Linked DNA regions of Homo sapiens: region 1 is linked to region 2. Evidence: promoter capture Hi-C in 16 types of primary human blood cells and fetal thymus (Javierre and others, 2016). All regions are on one chromosome and are shown on one strand. The core of a region is centred on a gene start or on the middle of the fragment in contact, and the rest is flanking DNA. Distances in the headings are between cores, read along the strand shown. Region 1 overlaps KCNQ1 (potassium voltage-gated channel subfamily Q member 1). Region 2 holds the start of NAP1L4 (nucleosome assembly protein 1 like 4).

Region 1 (6,002 bases), core at 3,443-5,942, 470 kb before region 2:
TTGTCTGTTACGTGCGTAATGGTGGGGTTTGGGCTTCTCGTGCGCCCATCAGCCGGATATTGGACGTTATACTCAATAGGTAATTTTTCAACCCTCCCCCTCTCACCCTCTCCACCTCCCCTTTGGAGTCCCAGAGTGACCTTTCTCCGTCTTTCTGTCCAAGCATCCCATCTGTCTAGCTTCCACTCATGAGTGAGAACGTGCCGTGTTTGGTTTTCTGTTTCCGGTAGTTCACTTAGGATCATGGTCTCCAGATCCATCCGTGTTGCTGCAAAGGACATGATTTCATTCACTTCTTGGAGGCTTTAACGCCTGCCCTGTGTGAGGGAGGGCGGAGCCCCTGGCCCAGGGGCGGGGAGGCCTGTCCACCCCTCCCACCCGTCCCCGAGGCCCCTGCTGCCCAGCAAGACCACCACCCTCTGCTCCAGGACAGCGCAGCCGCCATCAGTGGGGGTGAGGGGACAAGGCTGCTGGGACCAGGCCTCGCCCAGGCAGAGCCTCGCCATTTCTGGGGTGGGGGGTGCACAGGTGCATCTGGTCTGCCCAGCCCCTCCTCACCCTAGGCAGGCCTCTCACAGAGACAAGACGAGTGTCCTAGGGCAGATAGGGCCACATCCATGGGGTCACTTCAGTTTGTCCTCCCGGCGCCTTCTAAATATACTCTCTGTGGGTGTCTTATCACAGCCCAGGGAGCCAGGCTTGGTGTGGCCGGCCCTGGGAGCACAGAGCCCCGTTCCCAGCAGCCCTCGGCCCTGGGGGGCTTGTGCTCTGCCGGGCCACCTGCACCCTCCGGGCCCCAGGAGAAGCTCATGCCTTTCCTGCTTGCACCCCAGAGCCTGGCCACCCCTGTCCTCTGCTGAGGCCCTGACCACCTCTATGTGTGCCATGGCTGCAGTGACAGCCCAGACCCCAGGGGCCGGGCATCCCACAGCTCTCCTCACTGAGCCCCTGGGCCTATCCGCCCACGCCCAGGCCAGGGCTCCTGCTGGAATCTCCCTGTGGAAGGCCAGGCTGCCTGGATGCCCACCACTCCAGGCTTACTTCTGGGTTGTAGTTTTCGGGGTGCTTCGAGGTGCTGTGGGGACCTGTGATGCTGTCAGGGAGACCCGGAGTCCAGTTCTCGCCAACCGCTCGATGCTGTGTGACTTGAGGCAGGTCCCTTAACCTCTCTGAGCTTCCTCCTCTCCTGTGAACAAAGGATGGGTCCACTTCTCAGGCTTCTCATGAAGTTTAGAGGCGACAGGAGGAGGTGGGCTTTAAATGGCTCAGTCCCAGCGTCCCCTCATGCCTGGGACCGCTGACCCACCGGGATTCTTGGGGGCCACCATAGAGCCTGTTTTTAAAGGGGATGTGGCGGCCAGCTCTGGGGGCACACGTTCCTGTTTGAATTCTCAATCTCCGGGCTCAAAATTGGCCCCCAGAAAGCCTTTGAGATGGACAGGGAGCTGGACCTTCCCAATTCGGTTGCCCTTGCTTGATGTTTACATGCCACTGTTGGGTGCTCCTGATTGTGTAGCGGGTCCCCTGAAACCAACACACAGGTGCAGACACCCACATGCCATCCTGCCAGAGCCCTGGGTTCTCAGCAGGACTCTTTGCCGGGATCCTCATGCTACGGCCACCACCTGATTTTGTCGATAAAGTTTTATTAGGACACAGCCATGCCCGGCCGAATATTGCCACAGAGGCCACCTGCCCCACCACGCCTAGGACATTTCCTCTCTGGCCCAGAGGTGTGCCAGGGCTGCACTGGGCTCTTCTGGTGGGGAGGGACATTGTTCTGGCCCCTCCTGATCTCTCCCCCACCTTGCCACGACCCCCCAGAGTTTGCCTGGTGTCACCGGGAAGCTTCCTGGCTGCCCGAGGGTCCCCCAGCACCTGTCCCTCTAGGGCCTCTGAAGGGCTTTGACGTGACACTCGGGATGGCATGGCAGGGCCCTCAAGCACGGCTGTGTTCACCCCCCAGGCTGCTCCTGGAAAGGAGGGATCAGGGCCCAGGCTCCACGCTCCGCACTGAGGTGTGGTCGAGGGCCCTGGGCGTCCGGGTGAGATGGGAATGAGCCCTTGGTAGGTGCCAGGCGGGGCCAGCCCTCATCCCCACTGCAAGGCCTGAGCGTCCAGGAGCCCCGTGCGCAGCTGGACCCATCAGTCCCCACCCTGCAGGGCCGTTGAAGAGGGAATGCACACCTGTCACCTCTTGGTGCGGGGGCATCCAGGTTCCTGGCGATGGGGATGGGGTGAGATGCACCTGATGGACCTCCAGGTGGGAAGCTCCTGGGACACCCTGGAGGGCTCTGGTGGGAGACATGGCATTCTGTCTGCACCGAAGGGGGCTCAGGGCTGAGAAGCCCTGGGACGGGTTGGATTTGGGGCGCGTTCCCCAGGGCCCCACGCGTGTTGAGTCCCCGCTGCGTCACTGTCTGGCCTGTGGCGCCTCACCTCTCTGTCTGGCAGGACTCAGGCAGAATGGAAGTAAAGGCAGGACCTTGTCCCAGGACATCCAGGCATGTGGCGTGGCAACCAGGTGGGATGGCAGGGTTTCCCCCTGGCAGGATCCCCACCTCCTGCACCTGTCCTGACTTGGTCTTCTGGGGCAGCCCCTAAGACGCTTCTTCAGGGAAGAGGGACCGGTTTGGCCAGTGGGACCATGGCCCTGGGAGCATATGCCTGCACGTCCTGCCCGCTCACACCTGCCTGCTGGGGGGGCCATGCCTGCGCCCGCAGCTCACGTCAGAGCCCACCCCAGGAGGCTCCCAGCGATCTGTCAACCTGTGCTGTTGGCATGCAGCCTGGGGGTGAGGGGTGGCGGAACGCTGCCTCAGTACCACGTCCTGCTCAAAGGCCACTTGCGAGCTAGGCTGAGCCTGTGGTGTGCGGTGGGATAGGAAGGAAAAGAACAGAGTCTAAGGAGCCTAACTCACTTCCAGATTCACCCGGAGGCCTGCATGGAGGAGGCGGCACTGAGACTTCATTCACCGAGCTTGAGGGTTTACCCTAACATTCATTCACACCATCAGTCATTCAGCAAACACTTCACAAACGTGCATCCCACGCCTGGCACTGGGCCTTCGGAGGGAGGGAATGCAGCTGGTGGGCCCCTGCCTGGGGAGCCCCTGCTCTGGTCGGGGAGGCAGTGGTGGCAGTGGCTGCCTGGCGGTCCATGAACTGGTGCAAGCCAGAGCCGGAGGCCTCCTGAGAGCCTGGCAGGGAAGCCCAGGCCAGGGCCTCCGCAGAAGGAGGGTTTGGGGTCCAGGCTTCATGTGGGGGGTCTTGTAACATGGGAGGGTAGACGCTGCCTTGGGACAGGAGAGACAGAGGCGGGGGGACCAGGGGAGTGGGCTGCAGTTGGGGTGCAGGCCTGGTGGCCCCGGCAGGGGGACCAGCCTCTGGGGAGGTGCTGCAGGCACAGGAGTTCTGTGTGGACCCAGCCGAAAGCTGGCAGGAAGGGACCTGTTTCTTGGGGTTCCCAGTCCAGATCTGTGTTGGAAAAAGTGTCAGCTGAAACCCCAAGAGGCTGGGGACAGCCTTGGTCCTGCTGTGGGACACAGGTTTAATCTCCAGATGGCTCCTGGATAGGCGGGCTGGCGGCTCTGTCTAACGGGGACAGCACACTTGGGGCTTCGGGAGACAATGAGGGCAGAAATCTTACCCACCGGCCACACCAAGTCACCCATTGTTGTGTCCCTTGGGCTGGGATCCCATGGCTTTCAAGAACTTTTTAAAGAAATGAGACTCAGCTGCCGCGGAACAAGCCACAGGTAAAGAGTATAAGACAGCGTGAGGCATGGGGTGGCCACGGGAGCCCTGGGCCAAGGAGGCCCAGTCTGGTGGGGAGGCGTCCATTCACCCGGAGCTGGACGGGGAGGACCAGGCTGTGGGTCTGTGAAGCGGGTGTGGGATCACATCCACGCTCCTTCTGTGGTTTGTGCCCTGTTGTGGCTGCCAGGGGAGGGGCTTCCAAGGCCCTGCCAACCAGCTGGGCAGTGTGGACAATGGCAGACAGGGTGCTGTGTGGGGGCCTGAGGGGCAATGGTTGGGGGGCAGCTGTTGCCGTTCTGGTGAGAAGTGGCGGTCCCTGAAGGGCTGGGGTGCTAGGGAGCCTCATGGACCTACTCCCGACGTGGCAGCTGCCTGCTGCAGATGGGCCAGCCATGTCCCGCCTGTGCCGGGAATCACCACCCCCAGCTCCCTTCTCTCCAACATGACAGGGTTCGGGTGATGCCCTGTGGGCTGAATGGTGAGAGAGGCGTCCCTGTGCTGACACCAGTGGGCGTGGACGTGACCCTCTTTTTAAAAGAATTTTTTCAGATGCAATTCCATTAAGGATCTGGAGGTGAGAGGATGAAAAGGAAACTCTGAGCTTTGAGTACATTTTTAATTATGTTTTAAAAATTAAGACATGAGGCCGGGCATGGTGGCTTACGCCTGTAATCCCAGCACTTTGGGAGACTGAGTTGGGAGGATCGCTTGAGCCCAGGAAATCGAGGCTGCAGTGAGCCAGGATCATACCACTGTCCTCCAGCCTGGGTGACAGAACAAGACTCTGTCTCAAAAACAAAACAAAACAAAACAAAAAACCAAAAAACAACAACAACTAATATATGTTTTTGACCAATACCTAATTCTGTTGTTTAAGAATTCAAAATCTACCAATAGTGATCATAAGTAATGTATTAAATACTTACATAGTACAGCAGGTGTTGGCCCCCCCCCACAACATTGGTTTCCATCCCTGGAAGCTGCAAATGTGACCTGACATAGAAAACACCCCTTTGCAGCTGAGGCTGAGGGTCCCGAGAGGCGTGATTGCATTATCCAGGGGGCCCAAGTCCAGTGACACGTGTCCTCCTAAAAGACAGGACAGATTCAACAAAGGAGGATCCGGCCACATGCTGCACAGCACGGGAGTGATGCCGCCACCCACCCAGGACGCGGGAGCCCGCAGAGGCTGGAAGGCTGAAAAGGGCCCTGTCGCCCCCACCCCCCAGGATGACGTATGGCCTGATGTGGCATTCCTGCCTCAGGACCATGGCACCAAGTGGTGGCGCTGGGGCCCCTGGAGTCGGCCAGTCTGGGCACGTCCCATGCTGTGTCTGAGCCTCAGTGTCCCCATCGATTGGTAGTGCCTCCTGAACCCCAATCCAGGGGGCTTCTGGGGGGCAGCCTGGGACCAGACGTGCCTCACCAGGGCTTCTGTCTCCTCACCAGGACTTCCATGATGTGACACCTTCCACATGGGGTTCAGAGCGGGGAACCTGTGCCTAGTGTCCAGCCCAGCGTGGGGCCCTCGGTGTGGGCCAGGGCTCACCCCTTTGGGAGGGGTCGGGAGATGCCTGGCCCAGGCTCCATCCATGCAGAGCCAGGAAGCAGGTGAACCTGTGGGGACCTTGGCGACCTCCAAACCCTGCTGAGGCTGCCTGCTGACAGCCACTGGTGAGGGGGGTGACAGCCACTGGTGAGGGGGGTGACCAGCTGGTAGCTTTTTCTGAGGTGCAGATTCAGCCCTGGGGAACAGCCCTGGCAGGCTGTGAGACCTCTGCCCCTGGGCGTCCACATCCCAGGGCTCTGAGCTCAGCAGCCCTGGAGCCGGCAGCCACATCAGGGATGGAGGGAGACCTGCTGGTGACCAGTGAGTGAGCAGGGGAAGCCTGTCCTCTCCAGCGCCCAGTGTTTCCTTCCTGGGGCACATGGGATTTGGAGGCATTTGGAGTCTCCCAGGATGACTTTTTTTTTTAAGCCCCTAGAAGTGGTTTGGGGTTTAAGCGTCAATATTTAATCTCTTGAAGTTACACATTCAAGGCCCTATCCTGCCTTCGGCTTTAGGTTCGCTTCACAAACCCATTGTCTGCTTATCAGCCTGGCGAGGTCCCGTCCCCAGTAGGGGTCTTTGAACATTGCTCGATCTCATTCACCAGCCACGGGGAACATTTTGAACCCTCTGATGCTTGCTCTATGAATGTTGTTTGCTTTAAAAAAAGTTTTTTTTTTATTGTGATAAAATA
Region 2 (5,783 bases), core at 1,666-4,165:
TCTTAGGCCGTCAGGAATTTAAATCACCTTCTTGCCCACAAAGTATTTTTCTTCCAAAACAAACTGAAAAATATAGGCTCTTTGGCAACATTTTTGGAAGTACAACATAAACTTATCACAATAATTTTTAAACTGCAGACAACTAAAGGGAAGGAAGAAAAGCACTACTATATATACATACATATTTGAGGTCACCTCCTCCTGATGCTAGAGACTATCAACTGCTCAAAAGAAGGAAAACAAAATAAAGATTTCAGTCCCCACACTTAGCTGCGAATAGCTAACAAAGGGAATTAACATGCGGTCAATAACAAGAGGCTACTAAAAACTCTGACAGGTTAGGAAGTTTTCATTTCAGTTTCAAATTCAAATTCATACTGTAAAGTGGTGATGAACACATCCCATCCGCAGGTACTTAACCTCCATACAAATAAGAACTACCTCTCATATGGGCAAAAAGATCAAAATTCTACAGAAGAATCTGATGGCTAAATGGCTAATTTGCAAAACACAATGCCCTGTACATTTTGAGGACATCCTAAAACATGTGTAAACTTTTCAGAATTCAGTTTACCAAAGTTATCAAACTTAAAAATGATTAAAATTTATTTGCTACTGCAAAGAATTCAACCAATTTCTCCAATGACTACTCCATATTCATTTTGAAAAACAGTACCGGATTTAAAGCTTACACAACAAAATTCACAAAAGTGTTATATGTGCCTATATGACATATAGGCACAAATAACTGCAGACATTCTGAAGCTAACACTGCTCAACCAGGAAAAAAAAAAGACTGCAATTGGATATGTAATAACAGCTATTTAAGACGGCAGTAACGTGTTAAAATGGTTCATAAAAATCACATCATAAGGCCCTGAAATTCTAGTAAAAATATCTCTAAGTAAACTTGTGAACTACTACTAAATAACTAATTTTCTCTCTCTCTGTAGTCACTCATTTTATCTTTGGATTACTTTCCCATTCTATCACCACGTTGCTTTCTCTGAACTTCATTTTACATTTGCATATTATTTATTCCATTAGCAATTGCTCATCCCAGTCTGAATCTCAAAATTCTACTATAGGAGGCATTTGGCATTCTGTGGAATAAGAGAATTTTGAGATGGAAATGATCAACCAGCTCAAAACCTCGTAAGCTAGAGTTCAGTTAAGCTTAGCACAATGATGAAAACAATTTCTCATTAAAACTTCTTTCATTCCCTCTACAGAAGCAGTAACCCTGGGTACAGTTAAAACTGCCTGGGTCTTTAAGCTTTGTCACCTCGGACAAGTCATTATACCTAACCTCCCAGGGCCTCAGCTTCCAGAGTAGTTAAATGGAAAAACAATAGCATCTATCTCAGGTTATTAGATTATGAAATGAGTTAACACACGCAAACAGGCTGAAAGAGTCCCTGGTGCGCAGTGCAGGTATTAGTCATTTAGAGGTATAGTTACTATTACAGGAAGGTAGTAACTTAGAAAGACTTACCTTTAAGGTCCAACAACCTAATCTACATATTTGTATATTTCTAAGGTAAGAGAATTTTTAAAAGTCTATTTTCACCCCGTAAACCTAATGCAGGAGGATAAGGCACGGGTTACTACAGGAAAAAGTAATGCAGACTGGGGGATGCGAACCAAAGCACAGACGAATGTGCCCCGACGATTCCTCCGAGAACATAATGAAATGGCGGACCTTCCTGCCAGAGGAGCGCACAGTCACCCAGGCAGGTGATGTGACACACACGTTAGGGTCTAAAGGTCCCAAGGCTGGAGTCCCCTTTACTGGACCCTAAACATGTCTGCCTCCTGCCCCGCAATCAGACTTAGAGAACTGTGGACGGTGGAAAGTCTTATCATGACCAGGCCATCCTTCGCTGGGGTGAACGGAAAGCATTCAGAAGGGGAAAATTGAAAACAACAAAGACTCTGGTCAGGTCAAAAAATACAAATGTGACCTCTTCCACCATCTCTGAACTGAAAGAAAAGCATGGCACTTTCCCATCCATAACATGTACAATTTTTTTTTTTGGAGATTTTGCTTTTCCCTTGTGAAAGACGGTTTTAAATAGTAAACAGACTTGCTGCCCACCTTGGCTGGGAAACCAAGTCCCGTGAGTAACTAGTCTAAGGCCACTCAGGCCAGTCCTCGGGGAGCGCACGCCGCCCAGCTCGCTCCCACCGCACAGCTCCCAACAGCTAAGAAGCAACGCCAAGGACTTTCTTCCCCGTCAGACATGCCCTCGGCCACACCAAACTGACATCAAAACCCCAGTTAGCCCAGCCTGACCCCACAGAGGCTCACGATGACAACCGCCCTACGGAAAAACTCAAATTCCTAAACATCTAATAAAGAAGTCCTGGACGTCTCCACCTTAAAAACGGGAAGCCTGAACGCTCCGGCGCGCCCGGCCGTGTAACCGCCACAGCCCCCGCACGCGGGGCGGGCTGGGCTAGCGGGAGATTTGAGCGGCCGCCGCCTCTCGCCGTCTTCGCCTCCTCCAAGGGGCCGCCGCCCAGGAGGCCGCCCGCGGCGCAGAACAAAGCGCCTTGACCTTCAGTGAGGCGGGCAGCCGGGCGAGGCGCGCCGGGAGTTGGGAGGGGCCTCCCGCCAGCGCCCCAGGCCCGGGCTCCAGGCCCCAAGCCCCAGGCCCCGCCGCGGCCGCCGCTGCCTGCCCCGACCAGAACGCGGCCCCGCCCCTGCCCCACCGCCCCGAGGCTTCCAGAGATGGCCGCCGCCGCGCCCGCGCCGGACCCGCGGCCCCACCCGCCCGTCCGGGCCCGGCCGCCCTCCCCAGCGCGCCGTTACCGGCCCAGCACCCGTGTCTCCGCACCTCACGCCTCCTGCGGCAGTGGCGGCGACCCTAGCTTCGCTCGCTTTGGGGCTGCGCCGCCGTGGCCTCCAACAACGCCGGCTCCCATTGGCCGAGGCTCCTAGCTCCTCTCTCCGCGAGCAAGACAGGCTGCGATTCGCCGAGCGCGGCGCAAGTCAACTGCGCTTCGCGCCGCAGTCAGCAACCAATCACAAGCCTCCGAAGAAACGCCGCGCCATATGCAAATATTCCTCCGCGCGGCGCGCGCCCTGCGTTCCTCCGCCTCTTTAAATGGGGCGGGGCAAGGTGGAGACCGCGTGTGTGGTTCCGGGGGGTCCCGGGTCCCCGCTCCCGGGACCTTCCCCGGGTGGCACCACATCCTCGCGGGACACTGGGCACCACCCCTCTCCGTGGGCCCCGGCCCCAGCCGTCTTTATCTCCTGCGCCCTCCCAGTTCCCTAGTTCAATCCCGTCCGCGGCGGGTCGGTGCCTCCAGCACTCCGTGCGCCCGCTGATGTGAGAACCCCACCTCCCATGTCGTCCCCTCGCGCTACTCCTTGAGAACATCGCGGAGGGCCCCTCCGCCTGGGAGCCGTTTTCAACCAGCCCCGTTAGTGGTTGGGACGTAAGCCTAACCCCCGCTCATCCCCCAGGTCCCAGGTTGGAGAACACTTCCTCTGCGAAGAGGTCGGGGCTGGGTCACCTCCGCGGACAGGACGGGACTAGCCACTGCCTGCATCTCTTCCCCCACGCCCTGAGCCCCGCAGTGTCCCAGCAGCCTAGTTCTGGCCTGCGGGAGACCCTGTCGGACAAGGAGGAAAAGCAGTGCGCACTGGGCCCTCAGATCAGCCCCCTGAAGCAGAGCAGGGCAGAGGGCTGGGGAGGAGCTGGCCTGTTTCGCCCGCCCTGTTCTCCCTCTCATGGTGCCCTCTGGGCTGGGGTGAAGGTACCAGCCCCAGCCTGTGCACATCACATTTTGTAGAAAGGCATCCAATTTGATTGGAAAATAACCCCTACGCTGGGACTTTTGAGGCTGGTTCATTTCCATGTTCAACCGTGCCATTGGGGGTCTTCAAGTCTAATGTGCATTTTTTTCAGAAACGTTCTCTTTTGGGATGACGTTACTTTTGAAACAATTGCTAATTATTATTATTATTAGCAAGTTATTCCTGTAATGGGGAAAATTTGAAACCATTTAAAGGCTCCTGGTTGAGGGATTAAGAACATAGCGTCGGTTATAAACCTCAGAGGTAAGCTGGGAGGCTGAGGCAGGAGGATTCCTTGAGCCCAGAAATTCAAGTCCAGCCTGGGCAACATAGTGAAACCTCATCTCTAAAAAGAAATTAATGCGGAGCGCCGTGGCTCAGGCCTGTAAACCCAGCACTCTGGGAGGCAGAGGCAACAAGTCCAGCCTGGGCAACATAGAGCACCCTTCCCCTGCTCCAAAAACAACAACAACAAAAAATTACCCAGGCGTGGTGGCTCAGGCCTGTAATACCAGCTACTTGGGAGGCTGAGGTGGGAGAATTACCTGAGCCCGTGAGGTCAAGGCTGCAGTGAGCAGAGATTGGGCCACTGCACTCCAGCCTGGGTAACCAGAGGGGGACATTGTCTCAAAAAGACAAAAAAAAGGCCGGGCGCGGTGGCTCAAGCCTGTAATCCCAGCACTTTGGGAGGCCGAGGTGGGCCGATCACGATGTCAGGAGATCGAGACCATCCTGGCTAACACGGTGAAACCCCGTCTCTACTAAAAATACAAAAAAATTAGCCGTGCATTGTGGCGGACGCCCTAGTCCCAGCTACTCGGGAGGCTGAGGCAGGAGAATGGCGTGAACCCGGGAGGCGGAGCTTACAGTGTGAGCCGAGATCGCACCACTGCACTCCAGCCTGGGCGACAGAGCGAGACTCCATCTCAAAAAATAAAAAATAAAAAAAAAACTAATTAAAACAAAAAACATAAAAACCCCTCAGAGGTGACCGGTGCATGGCTGAGGCCTGACCCACACAGCGTGCTCAGTCCTGTCTGGCCATCTGTGTTTTAGGAGAGGGTGTGTGTGCTCTCAATTCCTATTTTACTTATTTAGACTTTCAGACTTTTCTACAAAGGTCATGCTTTATGCTTTGCGGAAGCATAAACAATGATAGAAATGACACAAGAACCTGGGCATTTGAAGTTTGGAGGGTCCTTCCTCCCATCTAATAAAGTCTCAAGACCATTTGCAGTAATGGGATCCCCCTGCTCCTGGATGTTGGGGTTGGTGGGGGTGGCATCCGGGTGGGTGGATCCTCTGAGGGAGCTGGGCCTTGGGGCTGGGGGCAGCTGGACCTGCTCCCTGGGAGATCTGCTGGAACTGGAATGATTGTGGTGGTGGTGTTTTTCTCTTGGTGGTTGGTGGTTTCTCTCCTTGGAAGATTCTCATTTGGAAATAGAGTCTTCACAGATGCAATTAGGTAATGAGGTCGAGTGGGCAGATTGCTTGAGCCCAAGAGTTCGAGACCAGCCTGGGCAACATGATGAGATCCCATCTCTACCAAATATCTAAAAATTAGCTAGGCATGGTGGTGCATCTATAGTCCCAGCTGCTTGAGAGGCTGAGGTGGGAGGATCACTTGTGCCTGGGATTTAGAGGCTGCAGTGAGCTGTGATCATGCCACTGCACTCCAGCCTGGGTGACAGAGCAAGACCAAGACCCTGTGTCAAAACAAAGAAGTCCCCAGATGACACTGACATGCAGCCAGAGCTGAGGGCCACTGGGATCAGGACTCCCAGGGTAGCTGGCGCTTGGTGAGTTTCATTCCTGTTTTCCCAGCGCTGCCTCTGCCAGGCCTCAGGCATGAGCCCACCTGTCTACAACCCCTCTGCTGCCTCAGCCTCCTCCAACCTGGAGATCAAGAGTCCCCTCCAGAGGCTACCTTGCCTGTAGTTCTGCTCTTGGCTGCCTTGTCCTCACTGAGGCTCCGGGA

What was found. Contacts are between HindIII fragments. The CHiCAGO score rates a contact against its expected background, and 5 or more counts as called.
Region 1: a contact is called between a fragment that was not itself captured here and the fragment with the promoter of NAP1L4 in region 2, in 6 of 17 cell types (naive CD4 T cells, monocytes, non-activated CD4 T cells and 3 more). The highest score is 9.1, in naive CD4 T cells.

What each region holds. Positions count from the first base shown.
Region 1 is chr11:2,515,070-2,521,071 of GRCh38, forward strand. The region is part of intron 1 of KCNQ1 (potassium voltage-gated channel subfamily Q member 1); the gene reads left to right. Among named protein-coding and RNA genes, the nearest start is that of KCNQ1, 73 kb to the left of the region's middle. RefSeq lists enhancers at 4,642-5,143, 5,144-5,643. The HindIII fragment of the contact is 5,693 bases long and covers 1,847-6,002 here.
Region 2 is chr11:2,989,414-2,995,196 of GRCh38, forward strand. It overlaps NAP1L4 (nucleosome assembly protein 1 like 4), which reads right to left and starts at 2,916. Exons shown (of 16, transcript NM_005969.4): 1 at 2,841-2,916. RefSeq lists enhancers at 1,485-2,341, 2,886-3,180. The HindIII fragment of the contact is 4,981 bases long and covers 1,275-5,783 here.